6 separate regions of the Homo sapiens genome follow, and all the other regions are linked to region 1. The links are contacts of gene promoters, found by promoter capture Hi-C in human tissues and cell types (Jung and others, 2019). All regions are on one chromosome and are shown on one strand. The core of a region is centred on a gene start or on the middle of the fragment in contact, and the rest is flanking DNA. Distances in the headings are between cores, read along the strand shown.

The links. Contacts are between HindIII fragments. The study calls those that stand out against the background at their distance.
Region 2: a fragment that was not itself captured here is called in contact with the fragment with the promoter of P2RX7 in region 1 in 1 of the 25 tissues and cell types used here (bladder).
Region 3: a contact is called between a fragment that was not itself captured here and the fragment with the promoter of P2RX7 in region 1, in 2 of the 25 tissues and cell types used here (lymphoblastoid cells and spleen).
Region 4: the fragment with the promoter of COX6A1 here is called in contact with the fragment with the promoter of P2RX7 in region 1 in 2 of the 25 tissues and cell types used here (aorta and mesenchymal stem cells).
Region 5: a fragment that was not itself captured here is called in contact with the fragment with the promoter of P2RX7 in region 1 in 2 of the 25 tissues and cell types used here (dorsolateral prefrontal cortex and hippocampus).
Region 6: a fragment that was not itself captured here is called in contact with the fragment with the promoter of P2RX7 in region 1 in 1 of the 25 tissues and cell types used here (thymus).

Annotation. Positions count from the first base shown.
Region 1 is chr12:121,130,610-121,134,772 of GRCh38, forward strand. P2RX7 (purinergic receptor P2X 7) reads left to right here and starts at 2,267. Exons shown (of 13, transcript NM_002562.6): 1 at 2,267-2,486. The coding sequence starts at 2,362. The region is part of intron 2 of LOC105370032 (a long non-coding RNA gene); the gene reads right to left. The HindIII fragment of the contact is 21,026 bases long and covers 1-4,163 here.
Region 2 is chr12:120,294,940-120,299,102 of GRCh38, forward strand. It overlaps a transcript of SIRT4 not described here. Among named protein-coding and RNA genes, the nearest start is that of RNU4-1, 3.8 kb to the left of the region's middle. The HindIII fragment of the contact is 8,404 bases long and covers 1-4,163 here.
Region 3 is chr12:120,419,695-120,423,857 of GRCh38, forward strand. No RefSeq gene overlaps it. Among named protein-coding and RNA genes, the nearest start is that of COX6A1, 16 kb to the right of the region's middle. The HindIII fragment of the contact is 4,053 bases long and covers 100-4,152 here.
Region 4 is chr12:120,436,863-120,441,025 of GRCh38, forward strand. It overlaps COX6A1 (cytochrome c oxidase subunit 6A1), which reads left to right and starts at 1,251. Exons shown (of 3, transcript NM_004373.4): 1 at 1,251-1,367; 2 at 1,517-1,659; 3 at 3,592-3,868. The coding sequence starts at 1,265. The coding sequence ends at 3,675. It also overlaps the pseudogene LOC124903126. RefSeq lists enhancers at 1,288-1,497, 1,424-1,945. The HindIII fragment of the contact is 17,604 bases long and covers 1-4,163 here.
Region 5 is chr12:120,538,504-120,542,666 of GRCh38, forward strand. All of the region lies in intron 1 of RNF10 (ring finger protein 10), which reads left to right. Among named protein-coding and RNA genes, the nearest start is that of RNF10, 6.2 kb to the left of the region's middle. The HindIII fragment of the contact is 6,302 bases long and covers 1-4,163 here.
Region 6 is chr12:120,599,105-120,603,267 of GRCh38, forward strand. No RefSeq gene overlaps it. Among named protein-coding and RNA genes, the nearest start is that of POP5, 20 kb to the left of the region's middle. The HindIII fragment of the contact is 9,311 bases long and covers 1-4,163 here.

The sequences.
Region 1 (4,163 bases), core at 1,017-3,516:
CTAGCCAACATGGTGAAACCCCATCTCTACTAAAAACACAAAAATCAGCTGAGCGTGCGCATGGCTGTAATTGCAGATACTCATGAGGCTGAGGCACAAGAATCGCTTGAACCCAGGAGGCAGGGGTTGCAGTGACCCAAAGTCTTGCCACTGCACTACAGCCTGGGCAACAGGGGGAGACTCCATCTCAAAAAAACAAAAAAAAAAAAAAAAAAAAAAAAAGAAAGAAAGAAAAGAGAAAGAAAGAAAGACAAGAAAATAGATGTCTTTGAGTGGTAGCAAGAGCAACACTGAAGTGATTTGCCTATTCTGGACATTTCCTATAAATGGAGTCGTAAAAGATGTATCCTTTTGTGTCTGGCCTCTTTCACTTAAGCGTAGTGTTTTCAAGGTTCATCCATGTTGGAGCATGGGTCAGTGTTTCATTCCTTTTTATGGCTGAATAATATTCCCTTGTATGGGCTTTCGTGCTTTTGTGTATCCATCCATCAGCTGATGGACATTTGACTTGTCTGCCTGTTCACTGCCATATCTACTATTCCTGGTGCTCTTGGGAATGAGTGAATGAATAGCATAAACAGAGCTGTCCAGGGTCACAGAGCTGGTAAGATGTGAAGCCAGGATCGGAAGCCAGGCCATTAGTCCCCTAGAGCCTATGTTCTAAGCATCAGGCTTTACCTGTGAATCTCCTCTTTTTACAGATGAAGATGACCGTATCACTCAGATTCCCGGCAGGAAAGCAATGGCATACTCAAGTGGGGTAACTAATGATGGAACCATTTACAAAGGTGTGGACAGAGTTAAGAAAAAGCAATAGGAGATAGTGAGCTTCCTGGGGCTGGTAAGAGTGGGGAGCCCTTACCACTCCCAGGACTAAAGGAGGGAGTGGTGCCCAGAAGCCCTGCCTATATGCAACTGAGAAGGGCAGGGCCAGGGAGTCACGTCCATCCTCACTGCTCTCCAGTCTCCTGAACTGGAAGCCAGAAGGTGAGGGGAACCCTGATGCAGTTTGTATGTGTGAGAAAGTACAATTAGTTTAGACTGAAAAACTGAAAATCTACCCGGCCACTTAGCAGGCTGGAATAACAGAAAGGGATCAAGCCAGCTGTAAAGATAACAGGGAACAATAATTCTCTGTAGCTGTAAAGTGATAATACAACCCTGCATCTTTGAGTGACTGCTGAAACATTGTCCTTTAAAATCAGAGACCTTCAGAAACTTTGCTGTTTGAAATTACATGACTAAGACTGAAATATTCCAATTTTGCCTGGAAGATTTAAGTCATCTTGACACAGAGAAGCAGCCTCAATTTACAACTCAGGAGCAGAGCTTCAGATAAAGATTTTCTGGACACATTTGACATGTATCTTAGCTATGTTGCTTCCTAGGAAACAGGGCCCTGGGTCCTCTTTGCAATCCAGACTGAAGTTGACTGCTTTGTACAAACCTGTTTTGCTTTGAGTCCATCAAAACATGACTTCATTTAGATTTTATCTCAACTCCACTTTCCTCGGAATCCTATAATAAATTGCTGTTTTCCTTTGTTTGGTGATGTGCGTAGCTCTTCTGGTGGGTGGTGTCCCTCACTGAATAGGTCAACAAACCTAACTTTGTTGGACTGCCACTGTGTCCCTGGTGATCTTTGGCTGATTGGTCTAGGTCATAGATCGACCTGCCGGGGTGCAGAGGAGGGTGGAGAGTAACTCAGAGGGTCAAGCATGAAAGATCTGGCAGAAAAATAAAGCCCCTCCACCCCCACCACCCCTACCCCTGCAAATCTGATTTCCCCCACCAACTGCAGACCAGAGTATTATAAGGGGCGGTGGAAGAAGAGGGGGAGATCTTCATTTACCCAGAGCTCCTATACATCAGGGGCTGAATAAAGGGTTGTAGAAATGAATGAATCAATCTCTGAGTGGGGCTTCAGGCAATGGAAAGATCTCAGTCCTTTTCTGAGGCATAATGGAAGCTCCCAGTCTTGTGACATTTGCAAGGCTGCCCCTTTCTCCCAAGAGACATGAGACCAAAAAAGTGAAAGGAAAGGGGGGAAAAGGGAGAATTCTAAAAATGCCCATCCTCTGAACACCATCTTTGTGTAGGCATCTGGGGGAGGCCAGCTGGGGTGAGGTCATCTGCCAGCCAGGCCCGTAGGACTTGGCGCTTCTTGTTTATCACAGCCACATGTGGGGCCACTGCCAGGGCCCGCCCCAACTCTGCAGTCATTGGAGGAGCTTGAAGTTAAAGACTCCTGCTAAAAACCAGTACGTTTCATTTTGCAGTTACTGGGAGGGGGCTTGCTGTGGCCCTGTCAGGAAGAGTAGAGCTCTGGTCCAGCTCCGCGCAGGGAGGGAGGCTGTCACCATGCCGGCCTGCTGCAGCTGCAGTGATGTTTTCCAGTATGAGACGAACAAAGTCACTCGGATCCAGAGCATGAATTATGGCACCATTAAGTGGTTCTTCCACGTGATCATCTTTTCCTACGTTTGGTAAGTGGGATCTGGGGAGGACCCAGATCTCTGCAGTGGCCGACAGCACAGAAAGCCCCAGCGGGCAGCTTCAGGTGCACATTCTGAATCTCACATGGTTTTCGAATCTGAGACGTGCTCTCACAGCCAGCTGGGCGGGAGGGAGGAAGCAGCAGCAGGCAAGAGGAAACGGTGCCAGGCTGCAGCAGAGAGAAGCCACAGGACAAGCGGGATTCCTTTCTGCTCTACTTCAGGCCCGCCAGGGCGCGCAGGGCAGGGCGTGCCTGGGGAAGGTAGGAAAGCGCAGGGCAACACCCTGGATCCCCAGGGAGGAGGCGAGGATCTCAGGGCACGCCTGGTGATCATGCTGGCATCTGAGTCACCATGCTTGGGAGGAATAGGACCAGGCTTGAAAATGTGTTATAACTTTAGGTCCTCACCAACGTCAGGAAGGCCCTGCTTTTTGGTTTTTGTTTCTTCTAAAAGAAACTTACTGAGATATAATTTATACACCATACAATTGACCCATTTAAAGGGTACCATTTAATGATTTTCAGATTATTCCCAGAGTTGTGCAACCATCCCCACAATCAATTTTAGAATATTTTAATCGACTCAAAAGGAATCCCACACTCCTTCACCATCATTTCCAACACTGTTCCTCCTCCTTCCCACCCATCAATTTCCTTTCTGCCTCTATGGATTTGCCGATTCTGGACATTTCATATAAATGGAATCACATAATATGTGGTCCTTTGTGGCACTTAGCGTGTTTTCAATGCTCATCCATGTTGTAGCATGTGTTGATACTTCATTCAATTTTTTTTTTTAAAGAGACGGGGTCTCACTATTTTGTCCAGGCTGGTCTCAAACTCCTGGACTCAAGTGATCTGCCTGCCTCGGCCTCCCAAAGTGTCAGGATTACAGGCGTGAGCCATTGCACCCGGCTGATACTTCATTCCTTTTTACGGCTGAGTAGTACTCCATTGCATGGATAGACCACTTTTTTCTATCCATTCATCCATTGATGGACATTGGGGTTGTTTCTCTTTTTTGGCTATCATGAATAATGCCACATGAACATTTGTGTACAAGGTTTTATGTGGATATATATTCTCCTTTCTCTCGAATATGTACCTAAGAGTAAAAATTGCTAGGTCATATGTTAACTATGTTTCACCTTTGGGGGGAATGTGGAGCTGAATTTCACAGCAGCTGCAGTTTTTTACATTCCTATCAGCAGAGTATGAGGGATCCAATTTCTCCACATCCTCACCAACGCTTGTTATCGTCTGTCTTTTTGGGTTTTGTTGTTGTCATTTTGTTTTTGTCTTTGAGATGAAGTCTTGCTCTGTTGCCCAGGCTGGAGTGCAGTGGCGCAATCTTGGCTCACTGCAACCTCCACCTCCCCGGTTCAAGCGATTCTCCTGCCTCAGCCTCATGAGTAGCTGGGATTACAGGTGTGCGTCACCACTCCTCACTAATTTTTGTATTTTTAGTAGAGATGAGGTTTCGCCATGTAGGCCAGGCTGGTCTCAAACTCCTGACCTCAAGTGATCCGCCCACCTTGGCCTCCCAAAGTGCTGGGATTACAGGCATGAGCCGCCACGCCCGGCTGATTGTCTGTCTTTTTTATTATAGCCATGCTAGTGGGTGTGAAGTGGTAGTTCATTGTGGTTGTGATTTGAATTTCCCTGA
Region 2 (4,163 bases), core at 896-3,395, 840 kb before region 1:
TCTCAGCCTCCCGAGTAACTAACTGGGATTACAGGTGCGTGCCACCAATCCTGGCTAATTTTTGTATTTTTAGTAGAGACAGGGTTTCACCATGTTGGCCAGGCTGGTCTCAAGCTCCTGACCTCAAGTGATCCTCCTGCCTCAGCCTCCCAAAGTGCTGAGCCACGGCGCCCGGCCTATCCATTTATTTTTAGATGGTCATTGCTGGTTTCCACCTTTTGTCTATGGGAATAATGCTGCTATTGGTGTGCAAATATCAGCTTAAGTTTCTGTTTTCCTTTTTTTTTTTTTTGAGACTGAGTTTCGCTCTTGTTGCGCAGTCTGGACTGCAAAGGCGCAATCTCAGCTCACCACAACCTCTGCCTCCTGGGTTCAGGTGATTCTCCTGCCTCAGCCTCCCAAGTAGCTGGGATGACAGGTATGCGCCACCATGCCTGGCTAATTTTATATATATATATGTATAAATATATATATAGATAATTTTTTTTTTTTTTTTTTTTTTAGTAGAGACGGGGTTTCTCCATGTTGGTCAGGCTGGTCTTGAACTCCTGACCTCAAGTGATCTGCCTGCCTCGGCCTCCCAAAGTGCTGGGATTACAGGTGTGAGCCACCGCGCCTGGCCCCTGTTTTCTATTCTTTGGTGTACATACCTAGAAGTAAAATTGCTGGATCATATGTTAATTCAAAAGGGTTTGGACACCTTAATTCAAAAAGAGGCTCAAATAATAAGGATTTATTTCCACAGAATGTTCACAGTTTCTAAAATTTGAAGCAACTTTCACCCTCACTGCCTGTTTTCCTTCAGGATGTAGAAAGCTATTAGAAACCTACATCTGGTCTAGGTGTGGTGGCTCGAGCGTGTAATCCCAACGCTTTGGGAGGCCAAGGCAGGTGGATCACCTGAGGTCAGGAGTTCAAGATCAGCCTGGTAACATGGCGACATCCCTGTAAATACAAAATACAAAAATACAAAATTACAAAAATACAAAATACAAAAATTAACGGGGCGTGGTGGCGCTTGCCTGTAATCCCAGCTACTAGGGGGGCTGAGGCAGGAGGATCGCTTGAACCTGGGAGGTAGAGGTTGCCATGAGCTGAGATCATGCCACTGTAATCCAGCCTGGGTGACAAAGCGAGACTCCGTCTCAAAAAAAAAAAAAAAAAAAAAAAAAAAGAAAGTAACATTTCCCCCAACATTTTATCATAAAAAATTGTAAACACGAAAAGTTCAAAGAATTCCTCAGTGAACATTCATGTACTCATCATCCATATACAAAAATGACATTTTTTTTTTTTGAGACGGAGTCTCGCTCTGTCGCCCAGGCTGGAGTGCAGTGGCGCAATCTCGGCTCACTGCGAGCTCCGCCTTCCGGGTTCACGCCATTCTCCTGCCTCAGCCTCCCGAGTAGCTGGGACTACAGGCGCCCGCCACCACGGCCGGCTAATTTTTTCTATTTTTAGTAGAGATGGGGTTTCACCGTGTTAGCCAGGATGGTCAAAAACGACATTTTAAAAGGCCTGTTTGATGCTGATGTGTTATGTGATTATTTCTAACTTGTTTTGTGTTTTTTTTTTTGTTTTTTTTTTTTTGAGACATGTTCTCAGTCGCTTAGGTTGGAGCGCAGGGGTGCAATCACGGCTCAGTGCAGCCTAAATCTCCTGGGCTCAAGCGATCTTCCCACCTCAGCCTCCCAGGTAGCTGGGACTACAGGCACACACCACCATGCCCAGCTAATTTTTCTGTATTTTTTGTAGATACAGGGTTTCACCATGTTGCCCATGCTGGTCTCCAGCTCCTGGGCTCAAGTGATCCGCCCGCCTCGGCCTCCCCAAGGGGAGGGATTACAGGCATGAGCCACTGCAGCAGATTTCTTATTTAATTCACAGCCTGGATAAAAAGAAAAGACTAGCAATGTGGTGAATTTAGATTCTTTTACTTTGATCATCCAGTCAAGGATTTAGTCATTAATTCTGGATGGGGTGGAGTTGTGAGAAAAACACTAGGCCAGGCACGGTGGCTCACGCCTGTAATCCCAGCACTTTGGGAGGCCGAGGCGGGTGGATCACAAGGTCAGGAGTTCAAGACCAGCCTGGCCAAGATGGTGAAACCTCGTCTCTACTAAAAATACAAAAATTAGCTGGGCATGGTGGCGGGCGCCTATAATCCCAGCTACTTGGGAGGCTGACATAGGAGAATCACTTGAACCCGGTAGGCGGAGGTTGCAGTGAGCCTAGATTGCGCCACTGCACTCCAGCCTGGGCGATAGAGCGAGACTCCGTCTCAAAATAAATAAATACATACATACATACATACATACATACATAAAATAAAATAAATAAATAATGGGGCTTGGTGTGGTGGCTCACGCCTGTAATCAAAAAAAAAAAAAAAAAAAAAAAAAGAGAGAGAGAAAAAGACTAAAGCCCTAATCCTAATCCCATGAGGGTATCAAAGGAACTTCCTAGCCCTTGAGAATTCTAGAATGGGTGGCCCATTACACTCTCTCAGTAGCTATCAAGTGAAATTGTGTGTTTCACCAGCTGACTTGGATGACAAAAAAAAAAAGAAATAGAAACAAAGCATACAAAAATTAAAAAAGAAAGAAAGAAAGAAAGAAAAAACAAAACAAAACAAAAAAGACTTGGATGACTTCACCGTCCAGGGATGATTTTCCAGCACTATGAGAAAAATTGAAAACTCAGCTAACTTTTCCTCAGAGCATGAGATTTTTGGGGGCCTAGAAGCACAATAGAATTCCCAACCAATCTCTATTAGTGATGATCATTCCACTTGGAGAACTGAAAAAATAACCTAGGTTTGAACTTTTTCATAGTAAAATTGGTGAATGGGGAAGGAGAATGTCACTGTTCTCACATTTTTAAAAGTTATGATCAAATACCCAGAAAATGTGTGCAGAAAATGTGCTGGATTATAATTTTTAAATTTTGGGGGGGATTATAATTTTTTTGACAACGAAAATTTCAGTCTAGCTTCTGGTGCTTTCTTTCAGCAGATGTGGTCAGGTTAACTAATGCAGAAAGGGCTGTCAGTGGCTGGAGTGCAGTCACAGGATCATGGCTCACTGCAGCCTTGAAAAAAAAAGGGGGTGGCCGGGCGCAGTGGCTCACACCTGTAATCCCAGATACTGGGGAGGCTGAGGCAGGAGAATCACTTGAACCCGGGAGGCGGAGGTTGCGGTGAGCCAAGATGGCGCCATTGCACTCCAGCCTGGTCAACAAGAGTGAAACTCCATCTCAAAAAAAAAAAAAAAAAAAAAAAAAAGGAGGGGGCTGTCATATGAGTTTCCCCGCCTAGTAGATCCTACAGCTACTGACTTTCGCTGTTGCTGGAGCTACTACTCCCTGTGTACTAAGTTAAAAAGAATCGGCCAGGCGCAGTAGCTCACGCCCGTAATCACAACACTTTGGAAAGCCTAGAGCCCAGGAGTTCGAGACCAGCCTGGGCAACATGGTGAAACCCCGTCTCTACAAAAAAATACAAAAATTAGCTGGGCTTGGTGGCCCACCTGTAGTCCCAGCTACTCAGGAGGCTGAGGTGGGAGGATGGTTTGAGTCCAAGAGGTTGAGGCTGTAGTGCGCAGTGATCGTGCCTCTGAACTCCCGCCTGGGTGAAAGAGTGAGACCATGTCCCCAAAATAAAAAAATAAGCTTTTAAATAATTAAAGTGGCAGGGCGCAGTGGCTCATGCCTGTAATTCCAGCACTTTGGGAGGCTGAGGCGGGCGGATCGCGAGGTCAGGAGTTCGAGACCATGCTGACAAGCATGGTGAAACCCCGTCTCTACTAAAAATACAAAAATTAGCCGGGCATGGTGGCGGGCACCCGTAATCCCAGCTACTCGGGAGGCTGAGGCAGGAGAATCACTTGAACCCGGGAGGCGGAGGTTGCAGTGATCTGAGATCGTGCCACTGCACTCCAGCCTGGGCACAGAGCAATATTCCGTCTCAAAAAATAAATAAATAAATAAATAAATAAATAAATAAATAGCCGGGCGCGGTGGCTCACGCCTGTAATCCCAGTACTTTGGGAGGCTGAGGCGGGCGGATCACGAGGTCAAGAGATAGAGACCATCCTGGCTAACACGGTGAAACCCCGTCTCTACTAAAAAAAAAATACAAAAAATTAGCCGGGTGTGGTGGCGGG
Region 3 (4,163 bases), core at 876-3,375, 710 kb before region 1:
GGTCAGAAGATAGAGACCATCCTGGCCAAAATGGTGAAACTCTGTCTCTACTAAAAATACAGGCTGGGCGCGGTGGCTCATGCGTATAATCCCAGCACTTTAGGAGGTCGAGGCAGGTGGATCACCTGAGGTCAGAAGTTCAAGTGCCTGTAATCCCAGCTACTCGGGAGGCTGAGGCAGGAGAATTGCTTGAACCTGGGAGGCAGAGGTTTCAGGGAGCTGAGATCGCACCGTTGCACTCTAGCCTGGGAGACAAGAGCGAAACTCTGTCTCAAAAAACAAAAAAAGAAAAAATATAAAAATTAGCTGAGTGTGGTGGCACGTGCCTGTAGTCCCAGCTACTTGTGAGGCTGAGGCAGGAGAAGCGCTTAAACCCGGGAGTCGGAGGTTGCGGTGAGCCGAGATCACGCCACTGCACTCCAGCCTGGGCAACAGGAGCAGAACTCTGCCTCAAAAACAAACAAACAAACAAAACACCACTCATGTAGGGTACGTTGATAATGGGGGAAGCTGTGCCTGTGTCTGGAGAGGAGAGAGATATATAGGAAATCTCTGTACCTTCTGCTTAATATTGCTGTGAACCTAAAACTGCTCCAAAAAATAAAGTTTTTGTTTGCTTGTTTGTTTATTAAGACAGGGTCTCGGCTGGGCATGGTGGCTCACGCCTGTAATCCCAGTACTTTGGGAGACTGAGGTGGGCGGATCCCAAGGTCAGGAGATGGAGACCATCCTGGCTAACACGGTGAAACCCCATCTCTACTAAAAATACAAAAACAAAATTAGTCAGGCGTGGTGGCGGGCGCCTGTAGTCCCAGCTACTCGGGAGGCTGAGGCAGGAGAATGGTGTGAACCCGGAAGGCGGAGCTTGCAGTGAGCCGAGATCGCGCCACTGCACTCAAGCCTCGGCAACAGAGCGAGACTCCGTCTCAAAAAAAAAAAAAAAAAAAAAAGACAGGGTCTCACTCTGTTGTCCAGGCTGGAGTGCAGTGACGCAATCATGGCTTATTCAGCATTGACCTCCTGAGCTCCTGTGATCCTCCTGCCTCCACCTTCCGAGTAGCTGAGACTACAGGTGTGCACCACCATGCCTGGCTAACTTTTGTATTTTTTGTAGAGACGTGGGTCTCACTATGTTGCCCAGGCTGATCTTGACCTCCCGGGCTCAAGCAATCCTCCTGCCTTGGCCTCCCAAAGTGCTAGGATTACAGGCATGAGCCACCATGCCTGGCCAATAAAGCTTAATTAAAAAGAAAAGAAGCCAGGTGCGGTGGTTCCTGCCTGTAATCCCAGCACTTTGGGAGGCTGAGGTGGGTGCATCACCTGAGGTCAGGAGTTTGAGACCAGCCTGGCCAACATAGTGAAACCTCATCTCTACTAAAAATACAAAACTTGGCCGGGCATGGTGGCGGGTGCCTGTAATCCCAGCTACTCGGGATGCTGAGACAGGAGAATTGCTTGAACCTGGGAGGCGGAGGTTGCAGTGAGCCAAGATCTGCCACTGCTCTCCAGCCTGGGCAACACAGTGAGACTCTGTCTCAAAAAATAAACTACTGGGAGCCGTGACTCATGCCTGTAATCCCAGCACTTTGGGAGGCTGAGGCGGGCGGATCACCTAAAGTCAGGAGTTCAAGACCAGCCTGTCCAACATGGTGAAACTCCGTCTTTACTAAAAAATACAAAAATTAGCCGGTTATGGTGGCGGGCACCTGTAATCCCAGCTACTTGAGAGGCTAAGACAGGAGAATTGCTTGAACCCAGGAGGCGGAGGTAGCAGTGAGCCAAGATCGTGCCACTGCACTCCAGCCTGGGCAACAGAGCGGGACTCCGTCCAGAAAAAAAAAAAAAAAGAGAGAGAGAGAGAGAGAGGAGATTGTGCAGTTCTCAATTATTTATCAATTTTGATTTCTTCTCTCTCCAGACCATAATACTAATATCGGCACCACACTTTGCAGCTTATAAAGCACTTTCAATTCTATTTTATTTAATTCTTGCAACCCCAGGCAGAAGGCTTTTATTACCCCCTTTCTATAGGTTGGGAAACTGAGGCTCAGAGAGGAGAAATGAAGGTTCCAAGTAGAGGTAAGTAAGGCATTCAACTGGGGCAAGAATTTAGAGTTACTTGATGAAGTGCCTAATTAGCCCCAGGGCATGGTGTTGACAAAGGAACTATAATGAAAACACTAAACTCTACCTTTTGTGGAGGAAGATCCCCTGGGGCGGGGGAAGGAGGTAAGGAGTAGAGACTAAGAAGTTGACCATGTCTGGTTCATCTGTGATCCTGGGCCAATGTAGGCCCTGGGGAAAGATTTGGTGCTGGGTTGAAGAAATAAGAAGTGAAGGAGGCCAGGCACAGTGGCTCACGCCTGTAATCTCAGCACTTTGGGAGGCCAAGGCGGGTGGATCACGAAGTCAGGAGTTCAAGACCAGCCTGGCCAAGATAGTGAAACCCCGTCTCTACTAAAAACACAAAATTAGCAGGGCGTGATGGTGCATGCCTGTAATCCCAGCTACTCGGGAGGCTAAGGCAGGACAATCGCTTGAATCCAGGAGGCAGAGGTTGCAGTGAGCTGAGATGTCACCATTGCACTCCAGCCTGGGCAACAAGAGCGAAACTCCATCTCAACAACAACACGGTGGCTCACGCCTGTAATCCTAGCACTTTAGGAGGCTGAGGTGGGCAGATCGCGAGGTCAGGAGATCAAGACCATCCTGGTTAACATGGTGAAACCCCGTCTCTACTAAAAATACAAAAAAAAATTAGCCAGGTATTGTGGCGGGTGCCTGTAGTCCCAGCTACTCGCGAGGTTGAGGCAGGAGAATGGCATGAACCCAGGAGGTGGAGCTTGCAGTGAGCCGAGATCGCGCGACTGCACTCCAGCCTGGGAGACAGAGCGAGACTCTGTCTCAAAAAAAAAAAAAAAAAAAAAAAAAACCAACAACAACCAAAAAAAAAACAAAAAGTGAATGAATAAATGAATGAATAAAGGGAGAAACTTGGAGCAAGACCCCTTCGCCCTCTCTGGACTCAGTTTCCCCATTTTTTACTTGTTGACAGCTAAGTTTCTCATCCTTAGGAAAATGAGCAGACACAATATTGTACTCTATTTCCAGATGCACACAGACCACCCTCCTGAACCCCTACTGTGGATCCCTTGGGAGGGGGTGATCCACTGAACCCTATGTAGGGAGCCCCTGAATTTGAGGATCTGAGATCCCTTCCAGCCCTGGTGTTAATAGTTGTAATAATGATAATAGTAATAATAATAGGATCCAGAAGTTTTGGGATATTGGCTCTGGGTCAGGCACTGTGCTAAAAGCTTTATCTCATGTAATCTCTTTACAGCCCTGTGACGCAGCCATGGTTATTATCATCTCCATTTTGCAGATGAGAAAACTGAGGCTTAGAGAGGCTAAATGACTTGCTCACGTTGCACAGCCTAAAAGTGAAGTCCATGGTTTCCAATTTAGCACTGCAGACACCAGGGCCCCAGCACTACCCCCCCTCCATTACGGAAGAGTAGGACCTCCATGGGGCCCGCCCTTCCTTCCTTCCTTCCTTCCCTCCCTCCTTCCTTCCTTCCTTCCTTCCTTCCTTCCTTCCCTCCTTCCCTCCCTCCCCTTCCCCTTCCCCTTCCCCTTCCCCTTCTCCTTCTCCTTCTTCTTTCCTTCCTTCCCTTCTCTTTCCTTCCTTCTTTTCGTTTTGTTTTGTTTTGTTTCGTTTCTTACTTTCTTTTTTCTTTTTTTTTTTTTTTGACGGAGTCTCCCTCTGTCGCCCAGGCTGGAGTGCAGTGGCGCGATCTCGGCTCACTGCAACCTCCGTACCCTGGATTCAAGCAATTCTTCTGCTTCAGCCTCCCAAGTAGCTGGGAATACAGGTGCGCACCACATGCCTGGATAACTTTTCTATTTTTAGTAGAGACGGGGGTTTCACTATGTTGGCCAGGCTGGTCTTGAGCTCCTGACCTCAGGTCAGCCACCCAAAGTGCTGGGATTACAGGCGTGAGCCACTCTGCCTGGCCCATGGGGCCATGGGGCTCTTTCAAGGGCAAACTCAAGTTGCTTTTTTCTTTTCTTTTTTTTTTTTTTTTTTTTGAGATGGAGTCTCATGCTGTCGCCCAGGCTGGAGTGCAATAGCACCATCTCAGCTCACTGCAACCTCCGCC
Region 4 (4,163 bases), core at 1-2,500, 690 kb before region 1:
GCTATACTGTGTGTTTACACATAGGTGTGTCTTTAGAGGAAAGGGTTCAAAGCTTTCATTAGATTCTTTTTTTTTCTAATAAAGAAAAAAGCTTTGTTGCCCAGGCTGGTCTCAAACTCTCAAGCTCAAGCAATCTGTCCGCCTCGGCCTCTCAAAGTGTTGGGATTACAGCCATGAGCCACCACGCTGGTCCTCATTACATTCTCAAAGGGGCCTATTGAAAAAAAAAAAAAAAAAAAAAAAAAAGGCCGGGCACAGTGGCTCACGCCTGTAATCCCAGCACTTTGGGAGGCCGAGGAAGGCGGATCACAAGGTCAGGAGATGGAGACCATCCTGGCCAATATGGTGAAACCCTGTCTCTACCAAAGTACAAAAAAAAAAATTAGCCAGGCATGGTGGTGCGTGCCTGTAATCCCAGCTATTCAGGAGGCTGAGGCAGTAGAACTGCTTGAACCTGGGATGCAGAGGTTGCAGTGAGCCAAGATTGCACCGCTGCACTCCAGCCTAAGCAACAAGAGTCAAACTCCGTCTCAAAAAAAAAAAAAAAAAAAAAAAAAAAAAAGATGAGACTGTTGAGTCAGGATTAGGATCCAGGTCTGCTGGCACCAATTTCAGTGCTCTTTATACTTTCTGTTGCTATTCATTCATTCATCCATTCATTCAGCAAATTTATATCAAGTATCTGGTATGTGCCAGGTATGATTCCAAATTACACCATTCCCAGATTATTCTGAGAATGCTGCAGTGCCAAACTCTTGGTATCACAGACTTTATATTCTAGTGGGGGAGACAGACAAAATAATAATATAACGACGAAGGTGCAATGTTATGTGCTATGAGAAAACGCAGTCGGAGGATGGCGAGGAAGGGGAACGGAATTTTAGATAGGGCGGTCTGGGATCAGAACCTCCAGATGCCCGTCCATGGACTCCAACGAAGGGAGCGATTCCAGGTACCAGGGCACCCTGCACAAACCTCTCTTGAGCTTCCGCCTCGCCCAGGTGGGGACGGTAGGGAGACCGGAGGGCACACGCATGCGCACGAAGGAAACGGTAAAGCCTGAAGGGAGGTGCAGAGCGCATGCTCTCTCTTGCCCGAGATGCCGAGGATTTTGACAAGGACTCCGTCGTCCCGGATGATAGTGCTCAGGTTAATGCCAGTGGGAGGGCGGCGCCCAATAGTAACTTCCTTTGGAGGTTGTAGTACCGCCCCCAGAGCCAATTTTCCACTTCCGCTTCCGGCGCTGCGGCAGTCCAGATCAAAAATGGCGGTAGTTGGTGTGTCCTCGGTTTCTCGGCTGCTGGGTCGGTCCCGCCCACAGCTGGGGCGGCCTATGTCGAGTGGCGCCCATGGCGAAGAGGGCTCAGGTACTGGGGCCGGGGTCGACGGGTCGAGCCTCAGCCCCACTCGGGCGAGACAGGGAGGGACTGTGACCTTGGCCCGAGGCCTTGCGGGAGGGAAAGTGAGACCCGGGCCCGCCCCATACCGGCGCTGAACGTTTGTGGCTTCTCCGCAGCTCGCATGTGGAAGACTCTCACCTTCTTCGTCGCGCTCCCCGGGGTGGCAGTCAGCATGCTGAATGTGTACCTGAAGTCGCACCACGGAGAGCACGAGAGACCCGAGTTCATCGCCTACCCCCATCTCCGCATCAGGACCAAGGTACGCCCTTGTACATCTCTTCAAGCGTCCGTTCTCTTTTCGTTATGTGTGCCTTAGTGCAAGTTCTTCATTCTCTGAAGGCATGGGTGCCAGGCGTGTACAGCTTGTTTATCCTCACAAACAGAAAATGTATTTTCTTCCATTTTGTGGATGGACAGCTGACACTTGGGATTACGTCTCAATTCTCTTCTTCAAGGTCATACAATAAGTGCTCTTCAGTTTCCCTTTTCTCCGATTCATCCTACCTCCTGCCTTCTGAGACAGTTCTTTTTTTTTTTTTTTTTTTTTTTTTTACTTCTGAGACAGTTCTGAAACAGGTGTCCGTTGTGTAAAGCCTGGAGGTTTGGGAAATCCAATTAGAGTGGCAAAGTCTGAAGGTGGTTCGCGTAAGCGAACCCAGCAGCTACATGGGAGGCTGAAGCAGGAGAATCCCTTGAACCTAGGAGGCGGAGTTTGCAGGGAGCTGAGATCGTGCCACTGCACTCCGGCCTGGGCAACAGAGCGAGACTCTGGTCTCAAAACAAAACAAAACAGCAACAACAAAACATGGGCATCTGGCAGCTACTAGTTGCATAATGAAGAGACTGACAGCTTTCTCTATTCCCCACCAATACCTTTTCTCGACTGTTTTATCATTGGTTGTTGATGTAGATATATTACAATGTTGTGTCCTCTGTTGTTTGCTGTATCTTTAACAAGGGCTTATTCTGATTCTTCAATACTGGCCATGCGCGGTGGCTCACGCCTGTAATCCCAGCACTTTGGGAGGCCAAGGTGGGTGGATCGCCGGAGGTCAGGAGTTCAAGACCAGCCTCGTCAACATGGCGAAACACTATCTCTACTAAAAGTACAAAAAGTAGCCGGGCGTGGTGGCGGGCGCCTGTAATCCCAGCTACTCGGGAGGCTGCGGTGGGAGAATCTAGGAGGTTGAACCCAGGAGGAGGAGGTTGCAGTGAGCCAAGATCCAGCCATTGCACTGCAGCCTGGGCAACAGGAGTGAAACTCCGTCTCAAAAAAAAATAGTAATAATATACTTGATCTTAGCCAAAAGGCCGAGAAGTGATGAAAAAAGTTATTATTATTATTATTATTATTACATCACCTAGCCCATATAGGACTGGCCTTGTAGAAACTTAACCTAGACTCTTGAATTTGTTGAGTCTTTGAGCGGCACTCCCATCCTTGTACAATGCAATTAGAAGCCAAACAGTAAAGGTTTCTCAGCCTCAGCACTGTTGACATTTGGGGCTGGGTAATTCTTGTTGGGGGGCTATCTTGTGCATTGTGAAATGTTTAGCCATATCCTTGGCCTGTACCCACTAGGTGGCAGTAGTACCTGCGCAACCCCACTCCCGCTTCCCCCTCCCCCGCCCCCATCACAGTGTCTCCCGATACTACCCAGTGTGCCCTGAAGGGGCAAAATCACCCTGGGTTGGAGACCGTTGCCCTAAAGTAATGCTTTTCAAAGGTAATAGGCAAGATAATTCAGGGTGGGCTGCAGTTTCCCAGCCCAGATATTGTTTGAAGTCTGGGATGGTGCCAGAAATCTGCATTTAATTAAGCATCTCCCTCCCCTAATACTGCCACCATTTTGATATAGGTGATTTGAGGATTACACTTTCATAAACACAGCACTGGATATACTAGTTACTAGGGAGAGGATGATGAGTAACTAACTTGAGCTTGCATTTTCTGCCATCCATATTTGTTTCTGGAATTAAAACTGTCCTGTAGCCAGGATAACTTTAAGGGCTCCCCTGGTAGTTATAAGAGCTCCTTAAATAATGGGAAGGTTGAACTACACCAGTAGATAAAGGACTAATTTCCATTTTGTTTTTATATATGATCTGTCACCCCGTTATAAGCAGTTCATGACGGTGTTCTTTCTAAATTATTTTCTGGAATTATCTAACTGACATCTTCACTCCACAGCCGTTTCCCTGGGGAGATGGTAACCATACTCTATTCCATAACCCTCATGTGAATCCACTTCCAACTGGCTACGAAGATGAATAAAGAGAATCTGGACCACTACCCGGGCACCAGGGACCACAGCACTGGTTTGGACCGTTACTCTGCACATGGACCAGAAAAAGTATATGGGACCTTAAGCTCACCTTCTTTACTTGTATCAAATGATGACTGGTATACTGGTCTCCCATCCCTTTGCTTGTGGCAGGAGATGGCTTAAATAAATAACTTAAATTTAGATTGGTCATGAGCTGAGAGTTACTTTCTTTGGTTGTGTTTTTTCGCAGAAATTAGCATTTGAGCTTCAAGTCAGTGTCCAAGTTGAAAAGAAATTGGCATTAGTTATTTCTGTTTCCACAGTGAAGGTCTAGGCTGCTGTTTAGTGTTACAGGTCCAATTCAGCCCATTGAATAAGTGTTTATAACAGCCCCTCTTGGTTTATTGTGCCTGATGTGGATAAAGGGACCAAGTGGAGTGGTGCTAATTAAGCATCAAGATTAGTCCTTGGTCAGGTGCGGTGGCTCATGCCTGTA
Region 5 (4,163 bases), core at 699-3,198, 590 kb before region 1:
TCCTTTTCTTGATTATATTCCTACAGCTTCATTCCAGTAGTGTTAATAGGTATTTCTGAGAACATGCAGCAGTAAATATCCTGTGAATATAGCTCAGAGGAGAGAAGGTGGGTTAGAAAGTGGGGAAAGTCATTTAGAGGGAGCAAAGAAAGAGAGGCAAGAGAGAAGGTAGGCCGTTTATGGGCAGGCAGTGGACTCTGGCCAGGAACCAGGCTCTTGTCCCATCCCCCTGGGCCGATAGAACTGCCAGGGAGGTTAAGGGAAGGTCAGGTATTATGAGGCAGTTATTTTGAGGTTGGTGGTATGAAGCACTGCCCTGGCATTCTTCCTGTTATTCTGGTACCAGAAACCAGGTTACTAGTGGTAATCTGCCTTGAAGAATGCCTCTGAGCTGTAAATGGACCTGGAGATTTTAATGGCTTTGAAAATTGAGGTGATTTGAAGCCTTCAGTAAAACCACTTAGAGAAATTAAAAGAATTTCAGGGCCCGTTGGCTGGATTCCTTGGTTTATATGGCTTCATTGGAAGTCTAGTGGGTGCTCTTGACAGGAACGCTTTGGATTTATTAATGATAGGCTTTCAAATCATAGTAAAACTGTGTGTCAGCCACTATGGTAGGCATTTTACAGAAGTTTTCTTTCTTAATCCTCATGATTCTATGAGGAAGTATGGTAGAATATTAGTCCTGTTTCACAGAAAAGAAAATAGAGGCTTAGCAGTGTTAAGAGTGATTTGTCCAAGTAAATTTTTATGAAGTCCTAGGCGGTATTTTTCAATAAGCTTTGTATAATCACACTTAGCAAGCAGATAACTTACTGGCATGTGCATCATTCCTGATACCACCTCTCTCTTCCTTTCATTCAGAATTACTAATTTCAGCTGGATTCAATTTGTTGTCAGTTGATTCTGTAGTAAGGCCATATGTTGCCCCTCTGGAGGTGCTTGTCAACTACTCTGGATGATGGGTAAGCAACTTGCTTGTGATTACAGCATGAATCAGCAGCAGAAACTTGCTGACTGGTATTCTGACCTCTAGGCCGAGCCACCTGTTAGAACTAGAGCTAGAAATGAAGATGCCAAGTAATTTAACTGTGAAAAACTTGTGGCCCTTAATTTGGTAATGGGGGGAGGCTGAGATATACCTACTGCTACTTGGTGGAGACCTTTCCATTAGGGAAATGTGGAACAACTGAGAAGCTGGGTTAAGTTTTTAAGTCATTTATTTGTCGACTCTGGAGCCTGAGTTTAGTGGTCTTGTCCATTTTGGAATGTGTCTTGACAGTAGTTCTTGGCAGTTGTTCTCAGTGGTGGCTGTGCATCAGAATCTCCTCAGGAACTTTTTTTTTTCCCTCAAGACAGTCTTGCTCTGTCACCCAGGCTGGAGTTCAGTGGCGCGATCTCAGCTCACTTTAACCTCTGCCTTCCCGGTTTAAGCAATTCTTCTGCCTCAGCCTCCTGAGTAGCTGGATTGCAGGTGTCCACCACCACACCGGCCTAATTTTTGTATTTTTAGTAGAGATGGGTTTCGCCATGTTGGCCAGGCTGGTCTCAAACTCCTGACCTCATGAGGAACTTAAAAAAAAAAAAAATAGGGGTGTGTGGGGCCCCTTCCTAGGAATTTATTATCTTTTTTTTTTTTGTAGAGATGGGGGTCTCACCATGTTGCCCAGGCTGGTCTCAAATTCCTGGCTTCAAATGATCCTCCCACCTTAGCCTCCCAAAGTGCTGGGGTTACAGGCATAAGCCACTGTGCCTGGCCTTTTTCTGATTCTTTAAGCCTAGATTGAACCCGTGGGTCCTGGGCATTCATAATTTAAAAAGTCTGTGCAAGTGATTCTGGTGTGCAGCCAGGATTGAGAACCACCACTCTGAGATTTAAAACTTCACCCATAGTTCCTTCTCCCAGGAACTTGATATTTTTTGTTTTCCAAAATCTAAAGTGGATCATCTTATCACTCCTGTTCTACCCTCGAGTTTTTCCCATGTATATCCTGGCAAGTTGTCCACAAAACATTTCAAAAATAATACTCTGAATTTTATCTCTGGGTCCCAGGCCTGATGGTACCTTCAACCTTTAGCTGCCTTTTGCCTGGGTCTAGAGATAAGAGCCAGTCTCTCACTTGACATATCTGTCTTCATACCCTTAGGTAACTGGAAGACGAGAAACGAGTTGATTTTGGCAACTAAAATCACTAATCATGATGTGGTCAGTTGTTATGTGTTTTGGAAATGAGCAGTTTACTGTCTTATCAGTGAGCATTTCTGTAAGCATTATGAAACTGTTTCCTTGCCAGTGTGGTAATAAGTGAAGAAATGAAGACAGCCTTCTTGCTGAGTGCCAGTTTACTTTCTTTTTTTTTTTTTTTTTGAGACAGAGTTTTGCTCTTGTTGCCCAGGCTGGAGTGTAGTGGTGCAGTCTCGGCCTTGCCGCAACCTCCACCTCCCGGGTTCAAGCTATTCTCCTGCCTCAGCCCCCGGAGTAGCTGGGATTACAGGCATGCGCCACCATGCCCAGCTAATTTTTTGTATTTTTAGTAGAGACGGGGTTTCTCCATGTTGGTCAGGCTGGTCTCGAACTCCCGACCTCAGGTGATCCGCCCGCCTCGGCCTCCCAAAGCATTGGGATTATAGGCATGAGCCACCGTGTCTGGCCATTTTACTTTCTTAATAAGCCCTTGCCATGTAGAATCTGGCTTTACCTAAATCTATGCAAACCGTGAGGTGCATCTTGAAAGCAGCAGTTAGGGTCAAACAGGTAGGGTCCAGGATCATCTGAAACAGTCTTGGATAATGAGGTTGGAGGATATGTGTTTTCTTTATATACCTATCCTCGTAGAATCTCCTTTGCTTGAGGTGATGTGAAATGGAGTTAAGGAAAGCAAAGCAAGAGAATGTGGCTGAGTTAGCTGGGGTTCTGCATCCCCTGAGTTTTCCTTTTTTTTTTTTTTTGAGACGGAGTCTCACTCTGTCGCCCAGACTGGAATGCAGTGGCACGATCTCCGCTCACTGCTAGCCCCGCCTCCCGGGTTCACGCCATTCTCCTGCCTCAGCCTCCCGAGCAGCTGGGACTACAGGCGCCCGCCACCAAGCCTGGCTAATTTTTTGTATTTTTAGTAGAGATGGGGTTTCACCATGTTAGCCAGGATGGTCTCTATCTCCTGACTTCGTGATCCACCTGCCTTGGCCTCCCAAAGTGCTGGGATTACAAGCATGAGCCATCGTGCCTGGCTTTTTTTTTTTTAGAGACAAGCTCTCGCTCTGTCACTTAGGCTGGCATGCAGTGGTGCAAACATAACTGACTGAAACCTTGAACTCCTTGGCTTAAGAGATCCTTGAACTCTTGAACCACTGTGCCTGGTTTATCTTTTTCTTTTTTTTTTTGAGATGGAGTCTCACTGTGTCTCCCAGGCTGGAGTGCAGTGGTGCAATCTTGGCTCACTGCAAGCCCCGCCTCCCAGGTTCACACCGTTCTCCTGCCTCAGCCTCCTGAGTAGCTGGGACTACAGGCTCCCGCCACCACGCCTGGTTAATTTTTTGTATTTTTAGTAGAGACAGGGTTTCACCATGTTAGCCAGGATGGTCTTGATCTCCTGACCTCGTGATCCACCCGCCTCAGCATCCCAAAGTGCTGGGATTACAGGCGTGAGCCACCGTGCCTGGCCTTTTTCTTTTTTTGAGACAGAGGCTCACTCTGTAGCCCAGGGTGGAGAGCAGTGGTGCCATCATAGCACACCGCAGCCTCAACCTTGGCTTAAGCAATCCTTCCAACTCAGCCTCTCAGCTAGGACTGCAGGTGTGTGCCACCACATTGGGCTAATTTTTAAATTTTTTGTAGAGATGGGGTCTTGCTATGTTGCCCAGGCTGGTCGCAAACTCGTGGACTCAAGTGATCCTCTTGCTTTGGCTTCCCAAAGTGTTGAGACAACCGGCATGAGCCACCAAGTCCAGCGCTGAAACTTTGCTTTCTAATTGTTACTACTAGTGCCATGTTTGACACTAACTGTTGCTAACTGAAGTAATAGGTAAAAGTTTAGTTTTTAAGTTCTAACTTTATTTATTTGTTTTTTGAGACAGAGTCTCACTCTGCTGCCCAGGCTGGAGTGCAGTGGCGTGATTTCAGCTCACTGCAACCTCTGCCTCCCGGGTTCAAATGATTCTCATGC
Region 6 (4,163 bases), core at 881-3,380, 530 kb before region 1:
TTCCATGCTCAAGGGCAGTGCTCGTCCCTCTCCACTGTACATGTCTCACCCGGAGACTGTTTCCCACGTGCATGCTGTATCTGCTCCCAGCATGGGGCCCAGAGAGAGGCGGTGGGTGAGGGGCTGCGCCCTGCCTGTGGGCCACTGCCCTCCTCCCTGCCCACTGAGGAGCGAGCAGGGTGGCCCGGGCTAGTGAATTCACATGCTCCTGACTTAGACTCACATGAGTCACCATCCTGACACTTTCACTTATTAGCCATGTGACCTTGGGCTCTCTGAGCCTTGGTTCACTACCCTGCAGAAAGAGGAGACAAAACCTAACCCTCTTCCTCCAGCATTGCTGGAAAGATTTGTTTTGTTTTGTTTTGTTTTGTTTCTTGAGACAGTCTCTGTCACCCAGGCTGGAGTCACAGTGAATCTCAGCTCACTGCAACCTCCGTCTCCCGGGTACAAGCAATTCTTATGTCTCAGCCTCCCAAGTAGCTGGGACTACCGGCACCTGAGACCACACCTGGCTGATTTTTGTATTTTTAGTAGAGATGGGGTTTTGCCATGTTGGCCAGGCTGGTCTCCAACTCCTGATCTCAGGTGATCCACTCACCTCGGCCTCCCAAAGTGCCGGGATTACAGGTATGAGCCACCGGCAATCCCAGGAAATGAGCCCCTGGAAATATTTCTATTATAATAAAAGTTCACATGTATCGAGCACTTATCCTCAACTACCCTGCGGGGCAGGTATGAATTTTATCCCCATTTTCCAGATAAGGAAACTGAGGCTCAGAATGGGGAAATAACTCTTCGGAGGTCACACAGCTAGCAGGAAGTAGAGCAGGAATTCCAATCCAGGCAGGCCGACTTCAGAGCTCACATGCTTAGCCATATGAATGCATCAGGCATACAATAGTAGGCGCTCAATGGATATTAGCTACTGGTGGCCCTCTGACCAAGGCCCTAGGAAGAACTTGCTTTCATGTTGGCACCGTTTTCCAGGACAAACTCCATCTTTTGTTTATTTTCTTCCCCTCTAATCCCTGCTTGGAAACACAAGGCCTCTTAGCAGTCCCTCTCTGAGGGATTTTCGGATTATTCCCACCTTGATTAGTTCCAGTTTCTCCTGCAGAAGCAGGAGTTATTTTGGGGCCTTGATGGCTCCCTCTGGCTGCCTGTGACCTCCACCCCGTTGCAGACACCTCTCCCTTCACCTGCACGGCTCATTAGCCGCATTCTGCTGCTCGGCTGCTGCTTTCCGTGCCCGCAGTTCCCCGCCCTACCTCGAGGGCCAGCACCTGCTCCCCTCCTCCCGGACCCCACAGCCACTCCTGCCACCCCACTATTTTGCAGGGATAGAGGCTGTTAACTGTTTCTTTTTTTAATTACCATTTTAATTTTTTATTTTTTGAGACGGAGTCTCGCTCTGTTGCTCAGGCTGGAGTGCAGTGGCGCGATCTCTGCTCACTGCAACTGCCACCCCCCAGGTTCAAGCGATTCTCCTGCCTCAGCCTCCCGAGTAGCTGGGACTATAGGCATGTGCCACCATGCACCGCTAATGTTAATTTTGTCACCTGTGTCCTAATCCTCAGACCCCAACTTTGCCTCAGAGCAATGACCCTCCCTCCAGTTCCAGGATTTTCCCAGACTTGAGCAAAAGCTCACACACCATTTGGATGCAAATGGGTTTGGCTGGTGTTCCCACTCCCTGTTCCTGTGGGAACCCAGTCCTCAATGTCATTCAGCCTGGGGCGGGAGCAGTAAAAACTCCCAAGGATGCATTTTATGTGATGTATATTTTACCACAATTAAAATAAAATTCCCAAGGGGTCACAGGACGCCTCCCCGCCTCTGCCACCATGTTATGTCGCCGTGCGTGGGGCCCACGTCACAGGCGTGGGGCGTGGGTTCTGTGGTAGCTGTCTGTTCTCTCTCTGCTCCTGGCTCTTCTTTCCAGCTCTGCGTTCTGCCTCTGCCAGGGCCGCCTGCAGGCCTTGCTTGCTTTTCAAAAATAACTCTTGAGTCTCTCACTGAGCTTGGGGGCTGCTTCCTGGGTGTCCCGGGCTGTGTGTTAATCCTTCCAATGCAAAACTTCCTGAAGCTTAAGACTCTGGGCTGGGCGAGGGAACTGGTCACCAGTGTCGGGCTGAAGTAGCTCAGATACTGACCTGCTGTTCCAGCACCTATGGTAAGGGCAGGTGGGTCCTTCCCAGTGACAGCAAGTCATTCATTCACTCATTAATTCAGATATTTATCAAGCATCCACTAGTGCCTATTGGCTGCTGAGCACACCCCCAGGTGGCCCCTGTTGGTTTCCCATTTGCTCCTCTTTGAATTTCCATTTCCTTCTCTAAAGTAGGGGTTCTCCTTTTTTTTTTTTTGTTAGCTCACTGCAGCCTCTACCTCCTGGGCTCCATCGATCCTCTTACTTCAGCCTCCAGAGTAGATGAGACTACAGGCAGTTGCCACCACGCCCAACTAATTTTGTTTATGTTTTGTAGAGATGAGGTCTCAAGGCCGGGCGCGGTGGCTCACGCCTGTAATCCCAGCACTTTGGGAGGCCGAGGCGGGCGGATCACTTGAGGTCGGGAGTTTGAGACCAGCCTGACCAACATGGAGAAACCCCGTTGCTACTAAAAAATACAAAATTAGCTGGGCGTGGTGGCGCATGCCTGTAATCCCAGCTACTTGGGAGGCTGAGGCAGGAGAATTGCTTGAACCCAGGAGGCGGAGGTTGCAGTGAGCTGAGATCGCGCCATTGCACTCCAGCCTGGGCAACAAGAACGAAACTCCGTCTCAAAAAAAAAAAAAAAAAAAAAAAGAGATGAGGTCTCGCTCTATTGCCCAGGCTGGTCTCAAACCCCTGGGCTCAAGGGATCCTCCTGCTTCAGCCTCTCAAAAGTGCTGGGATTACAGGCATGAGCCACCACGCCTGGCCAAATAGGGGCTCCTAAATTGGGGTGGCCATCAGTCCCAGTGGGAAACAGATGGCAAGCTCAAACTGGGTGACTTAAGGAAGGCTGACTAAAGGGATCATTTAGATGTGGACAGGGTGTACAGAAATCGCAGGAGACAGTGCAGTGCCGAGACTGGTTACAATGGGAGGGCTGTTACCTCCTTAGGCATGGCAGGAGCAGTTCCCACTAGCCAGAAAGTTATGTGGAGAGGGTCACTTTAAGAGAAGCTGTTGGCCAGATGAGGTGGCTCATGCCTGTAATCTGGGAGGCCGAGGTAGGTGGATCACTCGACATCAGGAGTTCGAGACCAGCCTGGCCAACATGGTGAAACCCTGTCTCTACTGAAAATACAAAATTAGCCAGGCGTGGTGGCACGTGCCTGTAGTCCCAGCTATTCAGGAGGCTGAGGCAGGAGAATCGCTTGAACCTAGGAGGTGGAGGTTGCAATGAGCCAAGGTTGCGCCACTGCCCTCCAGCCTGGGTGACAGAGCAAGACTCTGTCTAAAAAAAAAAAAAAAAAAGAAAGAAAAAAAAAAGAGAAGCTGTGACCTTCTGTTAACCAGCCTGAGGTGCCCTTCAGGAGGAAGCAGTTGCATAAATACCCTGAGTCACTCCACCTTCTCCCTTCAGTCTCCTCCCGGGGGCTCCTCCTTGCCCAAACCAGATTAGAAGCCAGGGGATATGGAAGGCTGTTGAGTCTGAACAGCTGAGTCTCCTTGGGCACACGGCAGGCTGGGGAAGTGCCCCAGATGGGCAAATGGAGGATATCGGACCTCTTCCCTGCTAGTAGTAATGGGGGTAGGAATAGTAAGTGATAGAATATATACTTAATAAATATTAGCTATTATACTGGTAGTGTTCATATTAGTTTATTGACTCCTGTGTAACAAATTACCCCAAAACTTAATGGCTTTAAACAATAATATTTATTACCCTACATGGTTTCTGTGGGCCAGGAATTGGGAACAGCTTAACTGAGCGGTTCTGGCTCATGAAGTTGTGGTCGTGGGTACAAAAAAAAAAAAAAAAAAGCTAGAAAGAAAGAATAACAGCCTGGGCAACATGGCAAAATCCCGTCTCTACCCCCGCAACCACGCACAAAAATTAGCCAGGTATGGTGGTGCATGTCTGTAGTCCCAGCTACTTGGGAGGTTGAGGTGGGAGGATGGCTTGAGCCTGGAGATCAAGGCTGCAGTGAGCTGAGATCGTGCCACTGCA